Regions from separate parts of the Homo sapiens genome. Here regions 1 and 3 are each linked to region 2. The links are contacts of gene promoters, found by promoter capture Hi-C in blood cells and fetal thymus (Javierre and others, 2016). All regions are on one chromosome and are shown on one strand. The core of a region is centred on a gene start or on the middle of the fragment in contact, and the rest is flanking DNA. Distances in the headings are between cores, read along the strand shown.

Region 1 (3,553 bases), core at 601-3,100, 120 kb after region 2:
CCCACTGCCACGCCAGGCTAATTTTTTGTATTTTCAGTAGAGAGGGGTTTCACCATGTTGGCCAGGCTGGTCTTAAACTCCTGATCTCAGGTGATCCGCTTACCTCAGCCTCCCAAAGTGCTGGGATTACAGGCGTGAGCCACCACACCCGGCAGACAGGTTAGATTTAAATCCTACAACCAAACGTTTCAATTTCCAATATTCTGTTGCATCATCCTTATATGTTATTAAAGTATCCTGGCCATGTTAACATTTTGTCACCCTTAGTAAACCTCAAGACTAAATCACACGTCTAGAAGTTTCTCTAAAAAATTCCTCCTTCAGTCATGTATTCTGATTTTTTGTTCAGAAAATATCATCCCTCTATACTAAGAGATGAAGTAGTGGAGCCAAAATCATTCCAAACTCATTAGCATTCTTGCATTATGCAGGCCAGCTGAGCTGGACTTGAACCTGCCCCTTGTTGGCTGTATGATCTTAGGCAGTGTAGGAGTAGGTGGTGAAAGCTGGCCAGAGGGGCAGCTGTGCCAGGTTGGCTGAACTGTAAGCCAGAGTGTCCTGCCACTCACCAATGCCAGGGGTCCCTATCCAACCCAGCCCTTTACAGGTACCCTGTAGTTTCCTGGTTTCCAAACTTCAACTCAATGATTATTAAAATAATGTTTCTAGGGTACATAAAGCACTTGTACCTAAACCTGGCATAATTTTTTTTAACTATTCCCTTTATGAGAGAAGCACTTAGCTAAATCTAATTTTTTTTTTTTTTTCTGAGCTTCCTCAGTTCTTCCATTCCCAGGATAAGCTCAATGCTTAGGCATCGGTTTCCACTAAAAGAAGAAAAAGTACCCTACATTTATCACTGTGCATGTCCCTAAAGTGGTCTTAGCTTAAGGCCTCTAAGGCTGGGTACATTTACTTTTAAAAACTCTGTTCCTGGTACACAGTAAGAACTCAGTATTCTACTGTTATTATTGTTTTTATTGTCTTATTACATGATCTTCCAGACAAGTTCCATATAGTCTTAGTTCCACCTGGGGAGATTCCTCTCAGTGCTTTGTGGTTCTGTGAGCCGTGTGCAAGCTTATATTATAACTCAAAGTACTGTACTTTGGGAAAGAAGTGTGTAGGTCATAAAAGGGTTCCCAAGTATGGATCATGTAAAACTGGGGTGGGGAAAGGGAAATTATAAACATAGATGTCTAACATCCCAATTAATTTTTAAAGAATAACTTGAAAATAACATGTTTTTTTCTAATTATAAAAACAATACATGTTCATTGCAGAAAACTTTAAAAATAACATTTATTGAGGGGGCTTCTGTTTATACAAGTAACACTTGCTTATTGAAGAAAACTTGGAAAACACAGCTTGCAGTTGGAGGAGGTACAAGGGCTTCTGTGGGGCTTTGAATAGTATCTGGGAGGATCATAAGAAAGCAGTACCCTGGGGAAATAGGAATAGATTGTAATGACTTCTGACCTTTAGTCTGTTCCCCATGCTGAGTGTCTCAGATCACCTCCTATACCTCTGCAGATAGACCAGCTGACTAAAGACTGGACCCAGAAGTGGAATGATTGGCAGGCCCTCATGGAGCATTACAGTGTGGACATCAACAGGAGGAGGGCTGGGGTGGTCATCGACTCCAGCCTGCCACACTTGATGGCCTTGGAGGATGATGTGCTCAGCACAGGTGTTGTGCTCTATCATCTCAAGGTGAGGAGGCTAGTGTATCCTTTTCTTCCTAAGCCACTGGTTCCAGAGGTCAAGGAGGGAAAAGCTAGGAGCAGCAGCCATGTTACTGTGAATTGAAATCAAGACAGATGCTACAGAGCTGCCTTCAGGTTTGCTCTCAGGAAACGTCTACCTGACAAATTGTGATCTGTTTTGCCTTCGTATGTATAGAGCAGAAGACTGGAAATCAGAACAATTGTTTTTCAACTGCTGCTACTGTTGTTCTTATGTAACTTACTTTTGTTCTCTTTGCCTTAATTTCCTCATTTTAAAGTAAGAATGATGCTTATCATATTCCTTTTCTGGCTTAGTGAAGCATAGGGGTATAGTCATGGAGAGTGAAACCCTAACCTCAAGATAACCATTAGTGCTCCTAAACTCTACAAATACAGACTGCTCAAAGGTGGCTTTCAGGTTGGGCGCGGTGGCTCACACCTGTAATCTCAGCACTTTGGGAGGCTGAGGCGGGCAGATCACTTGAGGTCAGGAGTTCAAGACCATCCTGGCCAACATGGTGAAACCCCACCTCTACTAAAAATACAAAAGTTAGCCGGGCGTGGTGGTGGGAGCCTGTAATCCCAGCTACTTGGGAGGCTGAGGCAGGAGAATCACTTGAACCCAGGAGGTGGAGGTTGCAGTGAGCTGAGATCACGCCACTGCGCTCCAGCCTGGGTGACAAAGTAAGACTCTGTCTCAAAAATAAATAAATAAAATAAATAAAAATAATGTTTTTAAAAAAAGGTGGCTTTCAGAGACTAAAGGGAATTCAGAAGATTTGAAAGTTTTCTTCTGACACTTCCCCACTTCATTCAACCCCAAATAAACAGTACACTTCCCACTTCTCCATCACTACATTTACCTGGAAAAGGAGACAGAGAAAGTAGGTAAAGGAAGCTTAAAACATAGGGAGGGTCCAAAGAGCTAGAGTAGTGTGATGGTGGGGGAAGAGGGGATGACAGGCATCCATCTAGAAAAAGATTAAAGTTAAAGCTTCCAAACAGCACCTGGCCCACCTGGCTCTGTGTCACCTGGAGGCCAGTCCTCATTTCTGATTGAAGTGGTTTTGAGAGTTAGTGACCTATGGTAGATAGAGTCTTTTATCTTGTTCTCATCAATGTGTTCTACTGTGGGAGGACAGTTCCTTTTGACAGCAGAACGTACTTCCCATGCTCAAAATCCCTGTGCTCACTGAAAATCTAGTTTTCATTCTCATAATTATCCCCAGCTGACGTTTAAAAAGAACAAAGAGTTTCTGGGGAGTATGTAATGCTGCTGTTATCCCTGGAGAAATTGGACTCCTTCTTAGTGCTGCAGGGCATATGGAAGTGAGATGTTAGCAAAGCTCATCGGTGTTCTTAGGATAAGCCCTTTGGGAAGTTGTCAGAGACTGAGCTGCTCAGACAGAAAATTTAAAGTAGCTTATTTTCTGGTATACAGGGTATAAATTTTCTTAGTGAAAGTGCCTGAGGCAGAAGTGGCTGGCAACTTTTACCTTAGCAAGAAAACTAAACACCAAATGGCTGTATAGATCCTCCCATTAGTCAGAAGCACAGAGAGAGGTTGGAGGTCAGGAAGAGACCAGATTGATTAAAATGGTCACTATTTGAGTAGAACTGATCTGATATATGGATTGGATGTAGAGTGAATAGATGAAGCTAGAAATCAAGTAGTAGAGCTTAGGGTCGCAGCAGAGGGTTAAAGGACATGACTATTAGATTGAATCGTAGACATGGAGATGAATGATGAACTCATCTGAAGATAGGATTGCTGATTTTTTTTTTTTTTTTTTTTTTTTGAGACGGAGTCTTGCTGTGTCACCCAG
Region 2 (3,970 bases), core at 1,256-3,755:
CTGGTTAATTCTGATGCATACTAAACTTAGAGAACCACTGAATAAAGGTACTGGCAGAGGTGAATGTGGAGCAAATCCTCAACTAATACTTGCTGCTTAATTGATTCAGTTTTTTTTTTCCCCCAAGAAGCTCTATAACATACAAGAATATCCACTTAAGGTAAAAAAACATGAGGCCAATTCCTCAAAGACAGACTGAATTTCATCATGATGTAAAATCACTACAATCTAGAAAAGTAATAACCACATGCAGCTTCTGGCCACTTTAATGGACCATGCAGATCTAGAAATACAGACACTAGAAAACTAAAGGCCATCCAGTCTCACAGTGTTTAATATTTCATCACTTGTGCCTTCATGCCTAGACAAGAATCTTTGGATTGGTTTTCCAGACAAATATTAATTGAAAGCTTCCAAAGTAATGGAAACAAATTTCAAATATTATAATTAAAGCTGTACAACAGTGAAATGGGCTATCTCCAGAAAGCCTATCACTTAATATTCTTCAGCAAAAGGAGACACACTTTGTAACAAAGATGTCAAAACCCCACACAAAACGAAAAACAAAACTGAATTACCTCTGACTCCCGACTCTGAGAACCTCAGTTTAGGCCTCATTTCCACATTATATCCCTGACATAGCTCCTGGCTAGCTGGTTAGGGGCATATATTTGAGGAGGATCTGAAGAAGTCTTCAAGATTTGTGAGACAGTAGTTTAACTTTTGAAATGATCTCTCCCTGTTACCTACCCCACCCTCCCCAAAACACCTACACAACTAACACATCCAGTGTCTCAACTAATTCCATGGCACTTTGGGCCTTGAAATTAGTTCAGCCTATAGAAGAAACCTCTCATTTAGCCTCTGATACTTAGCTCTATGATGGCAGTTTAGGAAACAAGAGGTTAACAGGTATCAGGAGACCTTAAAGCCACACATATGCTGTAGGAAAAAAAACCTTAAAGCTCTAGACCTGATTCTGGTTGAGGTTGAGTTCGATGACTTGCAGCTCTCCCACTGAGTCAGGTATACTTCGAATCTGGTTCTTAGAGAGATCCATCACATCCAGGTGCCGTAGGCTACAAAGTTGGGGAGGTAATGCTCCCAGTTGGTTCCCAGAGAGGCTCAGGGTCTTGAGGGCAGAGAGTTGCCCAAAGGTAGACGGCAGCTCTCTAAGGTGATTGTTGTTTAGGCTTAGCGTCTCTAGTTTTTTCAGATTGCATATCTCATCAGGCAGAACAGCTGGCAAAGAAAAATTTTTTTAAAACCTGAATGTGATAGAGCTGAAAACAACTTTGATGAAGTTTATAAAGACTATATGGCAGCCTGCTTCGCCTCTTGTTAATATATGTAAAACTCCCACATGTGCCATTTTTAGATATTGCATTTTACCAACATAGTCTTTAGAAGGTGAGGGTGCCATCAAAATGCCGGAGAGCATTTGTGTGTATAATGGGCTCCTTTTGTAAAGGGGCCCAAGGCACAATCCGACAGCAATTTTGTGATATTTGGAAGATCCTCCCCTTCTCATCCATCCCCCATTCCAAGTTAGGTAGCTTTGTTTACATTACATCCCCAAAATGTTCTTCTCTTTCAAGTCCAAATTAACCCAGTAACAATCATTATAACACCCAATCATTATAAGGCTTATTTTAGATGTAATTACAAGAAGTAGAAAGAAGGCTTCAAGGATTCCGGCATTCGCAACTTGAGCCCTCCTGCACGGTTTCATAACAAAAACAAAAATCAGCTTGTAAGAGAAAACCACCCCTGGTAACAGCTGATCACTAGCAAAAGCCTCCCTGGCGAGAGCCATACTCAGTTTGTTGTTGTTCAGGGAGAGGCTCTTCAGCAGAGTGAACTTTCCTATCAGCAAAGGCGGTAGGCTTTCGATCTTGTTGTTGGACAAGTCGATGGTCCTGAGATTGCTCGTCAGCTTCTGCAAGTCTGCGGGGAACTGGAGAAAGGAGTTCACAGCGTGGGGAATCCCGCACCGACTAAGTTCGCCGCCCCCGCCGTCCCTCTCCCTTTAAGTTCCCTGGTCGTGTCCCTCCCAGTCTCACCTCGGTCAGCCCTCGGTCCTTAAGCTGAAAGACACCAGTTTTCTGCGCCGTTTCCACATGAGCGCGGAGCGCACTGTTTCCCATCCTAGCGCCGCGGCTCAGGTCCCTGCGGGAAGGAAGCGCTGCTGTCACCGCCCAGTCCACCCGGTCGGCCTCCCGGCTGGGGCTCCTGCCCCAGCTCTCAACTCCCGCCGATCCCTGGCTCCTGGGGCCCGACCCAAGAGCGACAAGGAAGAAACGGAAGAACACACAGCCCGACCACCAAGCCCTGCCGCCTTTGCAGCTCTGCGGAGGCCAGGCGCCTCTGGGAGCCTACGGAAGATCAGGGAGCCCCGGACTCGCCTCCCACCGCTCAGCTGCCGTAAGGCTCCGCAGGTGAAGACCCAGGACCCGCAGTAGCCGGGATGCGCTCCCCGGCTTAGTCCCGGGCGGGAACGCCCTGTGACGTCATCGAGCCGCGCCGTGCGTTCGCCCTGCGATCCCGCTCACTCTTGGCGCCTTCGCGGAAGGTGCGTCCGAGCCATGGCCGCTGCCAACCCGTGGGACCCGGCGTCCGCGCCTAACGGCGCTGGGCTAGTGCTAGGCCACTTCATAGCTTCGGGGATGGTCAATCAGGTACGTGGGGGTGGCGGTGGTGTCATCAAGGGGGTGCCCAAGGTGGCAACAATATGGCTGTGAGTTGGTGCTGCTGGCTGTGGGAGTGGTGAGGGTCCTGGTTGGGGTCTGTACTAGAGTAATAAGAGCCCCTTCCAGGCAACAGCCGCGAACGTTCTGCCGTGGATGCTTGGAAAGCGGGGATCTGAGTAGATGGTGTTTAGGGTAGACTGTGTTTTGAGTGTCTGTAGGGTAAATTTGTCCCAGTCCAGTTTGTGGGAGATTAGACTGTTACCAGCCTTTTTTTCATCCAGTGATACTGCCTCTAGACTGTAGTGTAAGGGCGGGGATGGGAAATACGGGTCGTTCTGTCCCCTTGCGGAACAAGCATTTCCAACAACCCTCGTTTGTGGGAAGTGTTGAATCGTATTTGGGGCGGGAGGTGCTGGGTAGAGAAGAGCGCCAGAAGCTCTTTTTTGACATTTTTATTTTATTTTATTATTTATTTATTTATTTATATGAGACAGAGTCTCGCTCTAACGCCCAGGCTGGAGTGCAGTGGCGTGGTCTCGGCTCACTGCAACCTCCGCCTTCCTGGTTCAAGCGATTCTCCTGCCTCAGCCTCTGGAGTAGCTGGGACTACAGGCGCCCACCACCACACCCAGCTAATTTTTTTTTGTATGTTTAGTAGAGACGGGGTTTCACCTTGTAAGCCAGGATGGTCCCGATCTCCTGACCTCGTGATCCACCCGCCTCGGCCTCCCAAAGTGCTGGGATTACAGGCGTGAGCCACCGCGCCCGGCCTTGGCATCTTTAAAGGCAAAAAAAAAAAAAAAAAAAAAAAAGTATTGGCTAAAAAGATAAGACCTTGGAACGTGAATGGAGGAAGAGATTAATTTTGAGAAGGAGAGAAAAGAGACATTAACCCAAGGAGTCACGGAGTGGCAGTTTTAGGTTGGGCAAGAGGAGCATGTCGGAGGAAGGAGCCAACAGAGGGAGAAATTGAACATGTGAGGAAATAATGGAATGCAGTGACAGGAGGGCATGGGGCAAGTGGGATCAAGGGCATTGAGAAAAATGGGGAAATAAATTTTGATATATAGAGGAAGTTGAGAAATTTCACTAAAAAGAAAACAGAAAAGTTAAACTGATCTGTAAAAATCAGCACATATTAGCCGGCATGGTGGCGTACACCTGTAGTCCCAACTACTCCGCGGACCACATGGGTCCTGGAGGCTCAGATGGGAAGATGGCTTGAGCTTAAGAGATGGAGGTTGCAGTGAGATGCGATCGGGCCACTGCACTTAGCCTGG
Region 3 (4,124 bases), core at 697-3,196, 100 kb after region 2:
TACCTTTGTTTCATCACAGTTTTGGTCTTTTAATTTGGTATTGTGGTCTGCTTGTATTTAATGTAATCACTGATTTTATTTGGGTTTAAATCTGTTATTTTGTGTTTTCTCTTTACTTTTCCTGTTTTATGTTCCTTTTTCGTTACTTTGTCTTTTGGTTTGATAACTTTAAAAAATTATTCCATATTCCTTCTCCACTAGCTTATTATTTACACATTGTCTTACTATTTTGGTGGTTACTCCAGAGATTACAACATAGACCATTGATTTATCAAAGTCTAATATTTACTGGTTGTTCTGCTTCTTCCCAGACAATAAACCTTTTGGACCTTATAAGACTTGAACTCAGTTTGTCCCTTCTTGACTTAAATGCCATTTTTAGGGCTCTTAATTTTTAAAGAATATCCTACCTTTTATCTCTGAGTGCCTTCTACTTCAAGAATAATCTTGTTTTCCCTCTAGTGTGGATCTGCTATTGACAAGTTCTCTTTTGGCTTTTTGTTTGTTTGTTTGAGATGGAGTCTTGCTCTGTCACCCAGGTTAGAGTGCAGTGGCGCGATCTCGGCTCACTGCAACCTCCGCCTCCTGGGTTTGAGCAATTCTCCTGCCTCAGCTTCCCGAGTAGCTGGGATTACAGGCACATGCTACCGTGCCCAGCTAATTTTTGTACTCTTAGTAGAGATGGGGTTTCACCATGTTGGCCAGGCTGATCTTGAACTCCTGACCGAAAGTAATCCACTGGCCTCGGCCTCCCAAAGTGCTGGGATTACAGGCATGAGCCCCCATACCCAGCCTGCTTTTCTTGTTCTTGAAGGTAAAGTTCACTGAGTACAGAATTTTAAATTGATGGTTATTTTCTTTTAGTCATTAAAAATTATACCATTCTCTTCTGCTTTCCACTGTTTTTGCTGAGAAGTCATCTCCTAGTCTAATTTTTTCAATATTTTTACTTTTGTCTTTGAACAGTTTATTATGGTCTACTTATGGGTAGATTTAGGTTTTTAAAAAATCATGCTGGGATTCTTGAATTGTGCTTTTGTATCTTCTTATCAGTTTTGGAAAGTTCTTAGCCATTACCTTTCCCTTTTTTCCCCCCTTCCCTCCACTACCATTACCTCTTATAATAATCCTTCTATCCCATTCTTTCCTCTTCTTTTGGGACTCTAATTACAGGTATGTTAAGGCCTATTGCCTGTATACTCTGTGAGTCTTACCATTTCTTCTATATTTAATTAATTAATTTATTTATTAGACATGAAGTCTTGCTAATGTTGCCCAGACTGGTTTTGGACTCCTGGGCTCAAGGGATCCTCCTGCCTCAGCCTCCCAAGTAGCTGAGATTACAGGTGTGCACACCTAGCCTCCATTTTTTTTTCTTTGAGATGGAGCCTCGCTGTGTTGCCCAGGCTGGAGTGCAATGGCGCAATCTCAGCTCACTGCAACCTCCACCTCCTGGGTTCAAGCGATTCTCTTGCCTTAGCCTCCCGAGTAGCTGGGATTACAGTCGCGCACCACCACAGCCGGCTGATTTTTGTATTTTCATGAGAGACGGGGTTTTACCACGTTGGTCAGGCTGGTCTTGAACTCCTGACCTCATGATCCACCCGCCTCAGCCTCCCAAAGTGTTGGGATTACAGGCGTGAGCCACTGCACCCGGCTCCCTCCATATTTTTAATCTTTTGTCTCTCTGTGCTAAATTTTGAGTATGTTTCTGATCTATCTTCCTGCTCACTCATTCTTTCTTCAGCTATGTCTAACCTGCTATTAAACTTTATATTGAGTTTTTATTTTCACTTACAGTATTATTTCTCAGATATCCATTTTATTATTTCATTATAGTTTCCAAGTTTACAATCTTGTCTTTAAACTCCTTGAAAATATTAAGCAGAGTTACTTTTTTTTTTTTTTGAAACGAAGTTTTGCTCTTATCGCCCAGGCTGGGGTGCAATGGTGAGATCTTAGCTCACTGCAACCTCTGCCTCCTAGGTCCAAGTGATTCTCCTGCCCCAGCCTCCTGAGTAGCTTGGACTATAGGCTCCCGCTACCATGTCCAGCTAATTTTTTGTATTTTTAGTCGAGGTGGGGTTTCACCATCTTGGCCAGGCTGGTCTTGGAACTCCTGACCTCATGATCTACCTGCCTTGGGCTCCCAAAGTAGTACTGGGATTACAGGCATGAGGCACCGAGCCTGGCCTTTTTTTTTTTTTTTTTTTTTGAGATGGAGTTTCGCTCTTGTTGCCGAGGCTGGAGTGCAATGGCGCGATCTCGACTCTCCACAACCTCCGCCTCCCAGGTTCAAGGGATTCTCCTGTCTCAGCCTCCCGAGTAGCTGGGATTACAGGCATGCACCAACACACCCAGCTAATTTTGCATTTTTAGCAGAGACAGGGTTTCTCCATGTTCGCCAGGCTAGTCTCAAACTCCTGACCTCAGGCCCGCCCGCCTCGGCCTCCCAAAGTGCTGGGATTACAGGCATGAACCACAGTGCCCAGCCTTCAGGGTTACTTTTAAGTCGGCCTGGTAGCTTCAGTATCTGGGTCTTTCTTGGATTGCTTTCTATTGACTATTATTTTTGTTGGTTTCATTTATGTTACTTTGTTATTTTGGGTGTAATTGTATTTAGCAATAAGCCCATGAAGTTACTTTGTTTTTGAATCTCTCATACAGAGATTCTCTGGAACAGTTGGGAAGGCCTTTGGGACTTGGTCAGTAACCAGCCATGAAGATTTACTTTCATGCCCGTAGGCTCCTCTTCACCTATCTAAAGCCTCCCCATTCTATAGTGGCTAAATTTAAGTCTCACTTCTTCTGTGGAACCTGTCCTGACCACGCCTCTGATCTCCTCATCATGTATCATCTTTCCAACTCCTGTGGCACTTGGCCATATTGTCTTGTGTAGTGTAACTTACCATGATTGTAAACTGTGGGAGGACAGAGATGAGTGTACTGTGTATTTTGTATGCCAAACCGAGTCTGCCACCTTGTGGGGAAAACAACACTGGCCTACCTCAGGGACTTTGTGAGGGCCAAATGAGAACAGTTCTTATAACCTATATAGCAGAACTGTAAGGAATTATAGTTGTTGTTAGCATATGGTCTATATGACTTATAGACCATAATCTCTGTGAGGACAGAGACCTATATTCCTAGAGTCTATCATATACCTGACAAGAGGTTTCCAATAAATATTTCTTGATTTAATTTATTATCTGAATGAATTTGGCCAGATTCCCTCATTTTTGTCTATTAAACAATATGAAATAGGAATGATAAAGACTTACAAGAAAAGGTTAAAGTTTACCAAAAATCTCATTTAATTTCTTTTTTCCGTTTCACAAATCCGATAGGTTTATCTCAACATGTAGTTACCAATTATAAGCAAGTAATCCAACTCTTGGAGGAGGGAATTGCAAACAGGTAACAGGTTTGTTTGTTTCTGTCATTCTTTTATCCTCACACTCCTATCCTGTGTTCCCATTTCCCTTTGGGGAGTGTATAATGACACTTAAAATTGTCTCTGTGTGTAGAGATGTTCACAACCAGGAGGCTCTTCCCAGAACAATAGTGTTCACAGGGTAAGGGGTGGTGACTAAGATTTAGTCTCTTCTCACTAGTAATGAAGCTGGAATCTGTTCTGGACATAATAATATTAGGCAGTAAGCCCAAGGAAGTTACTCTATATTTTGTTTAGAGCTTCTAAATTTGGAAGAAAGGGTTCTTACCTGCATTGTCCTCTCCTCAGGTTTGATAGATATAAGGATGAATATAGTGTAAAAGGTTCATAAAAACATTTTTTTCTAGTTTTGCATACTTATAAGGTAGCCCCTCAAAAGACTGTTTTGAATCTGCTATGAATAACTAGGTGCTGTAGATTCCCCTAAAAGCTATTGTAAATTGTAATAACATTTCATGTTGTAAGTTACTATGAAATACCTAGAATATTACTAGTAAATGTCCCTAAAAAAGGCTTTTTTTTTCTGGGGTAAAAAGGTCTTTAGAGCCTTCTATTTATCCTGTTAATAGCAGGACCAAGTTAATTGAACATAAAGGAAGAAATTTAAATTTAACATTCTCCTGAGCTTCATGGAACTCTCCTGGAGACACTTACTTCTGGTCTTCAGGGT

Evidence for each region. The method cuts DNA at HindIII sites, captures the fragments that hold promoters and counts their contacts. A CHiCAGO score of 5 or more calls a contact.
Region 1: a fragment that was not itself captured here is called in contact with the fragment with the promoter of LRRC57 in region 2 in 2 of 17 cell types (endothelial precursors and megakaryocytes); the score reaches 7.5 in endothelial precursors.
Region 3: a fragment that was not itself captured here is called in contact with the fragment with the promoter of LRRC57 in region 2 in 3 of 17 cell types (endothelial precursors, megakaryocytes and total CD8 T cells); the score reaches 12.5 in endothelial precursors.

The regions. Positions count from the first base shown.
Region 1 is chr15:42,667,625-42,671,177 of GRCh38, forward strand. STARD9 (StAR related lipid transfer domain containing 9) reads left to right here. Exons shown (of 33, transcript NM_020759.3): 16 at 1,534-1,713. Among named protein-coding and RNA genes, the nearest start is that of CDAN1, 68 kb to the right of the region's middle. The HindIII fragment of the contact is 1,545 bases long and covers 1,079-2,623 here.
Region 2 is chr15:42,546,288-42,550,257 of GRCh38, forward strand. It overlaps LRRC57 (leucine rich repeat containing 57), which reads right to left and starts at 2,506. Exons shown (of 6, transcript NM_153260.3): 1 at 2,406-2,506; 2 at 2,064-2,169; 3 at 1,819-1,957; 4 at 974-1,242. The coding sequence starts at 2,147. HAUS2 (HAUS augmin like complex subunit 2) reads left to right here and starts at 2,551. Exons shown (of 6, transcript NM_018097.3): 1 at 2,551-2,678. The coding sequence starts at 2,586. RefSeq lists an enhancer at 2,342-2,811. The HindIII fragment of the contact is 3,855 bases long and covers 409-3,970 here.
Region 3 is chr15:42,647,669-42,651,792 of GRCh38, forward strand. It overlaps STARD9 (StAR related lipid transfer domain containing 9), which reads left to right. Exons shown (of 33, transcript NM_020759.3): 8 at 3,348-3,417. Among named protein-coding and RNA genes, the nearest start is that of STARD9, 74 kb to the left of the region's middle. The HindIII fragment of the contact is 4,992 bases long and covers 1-4,124 here.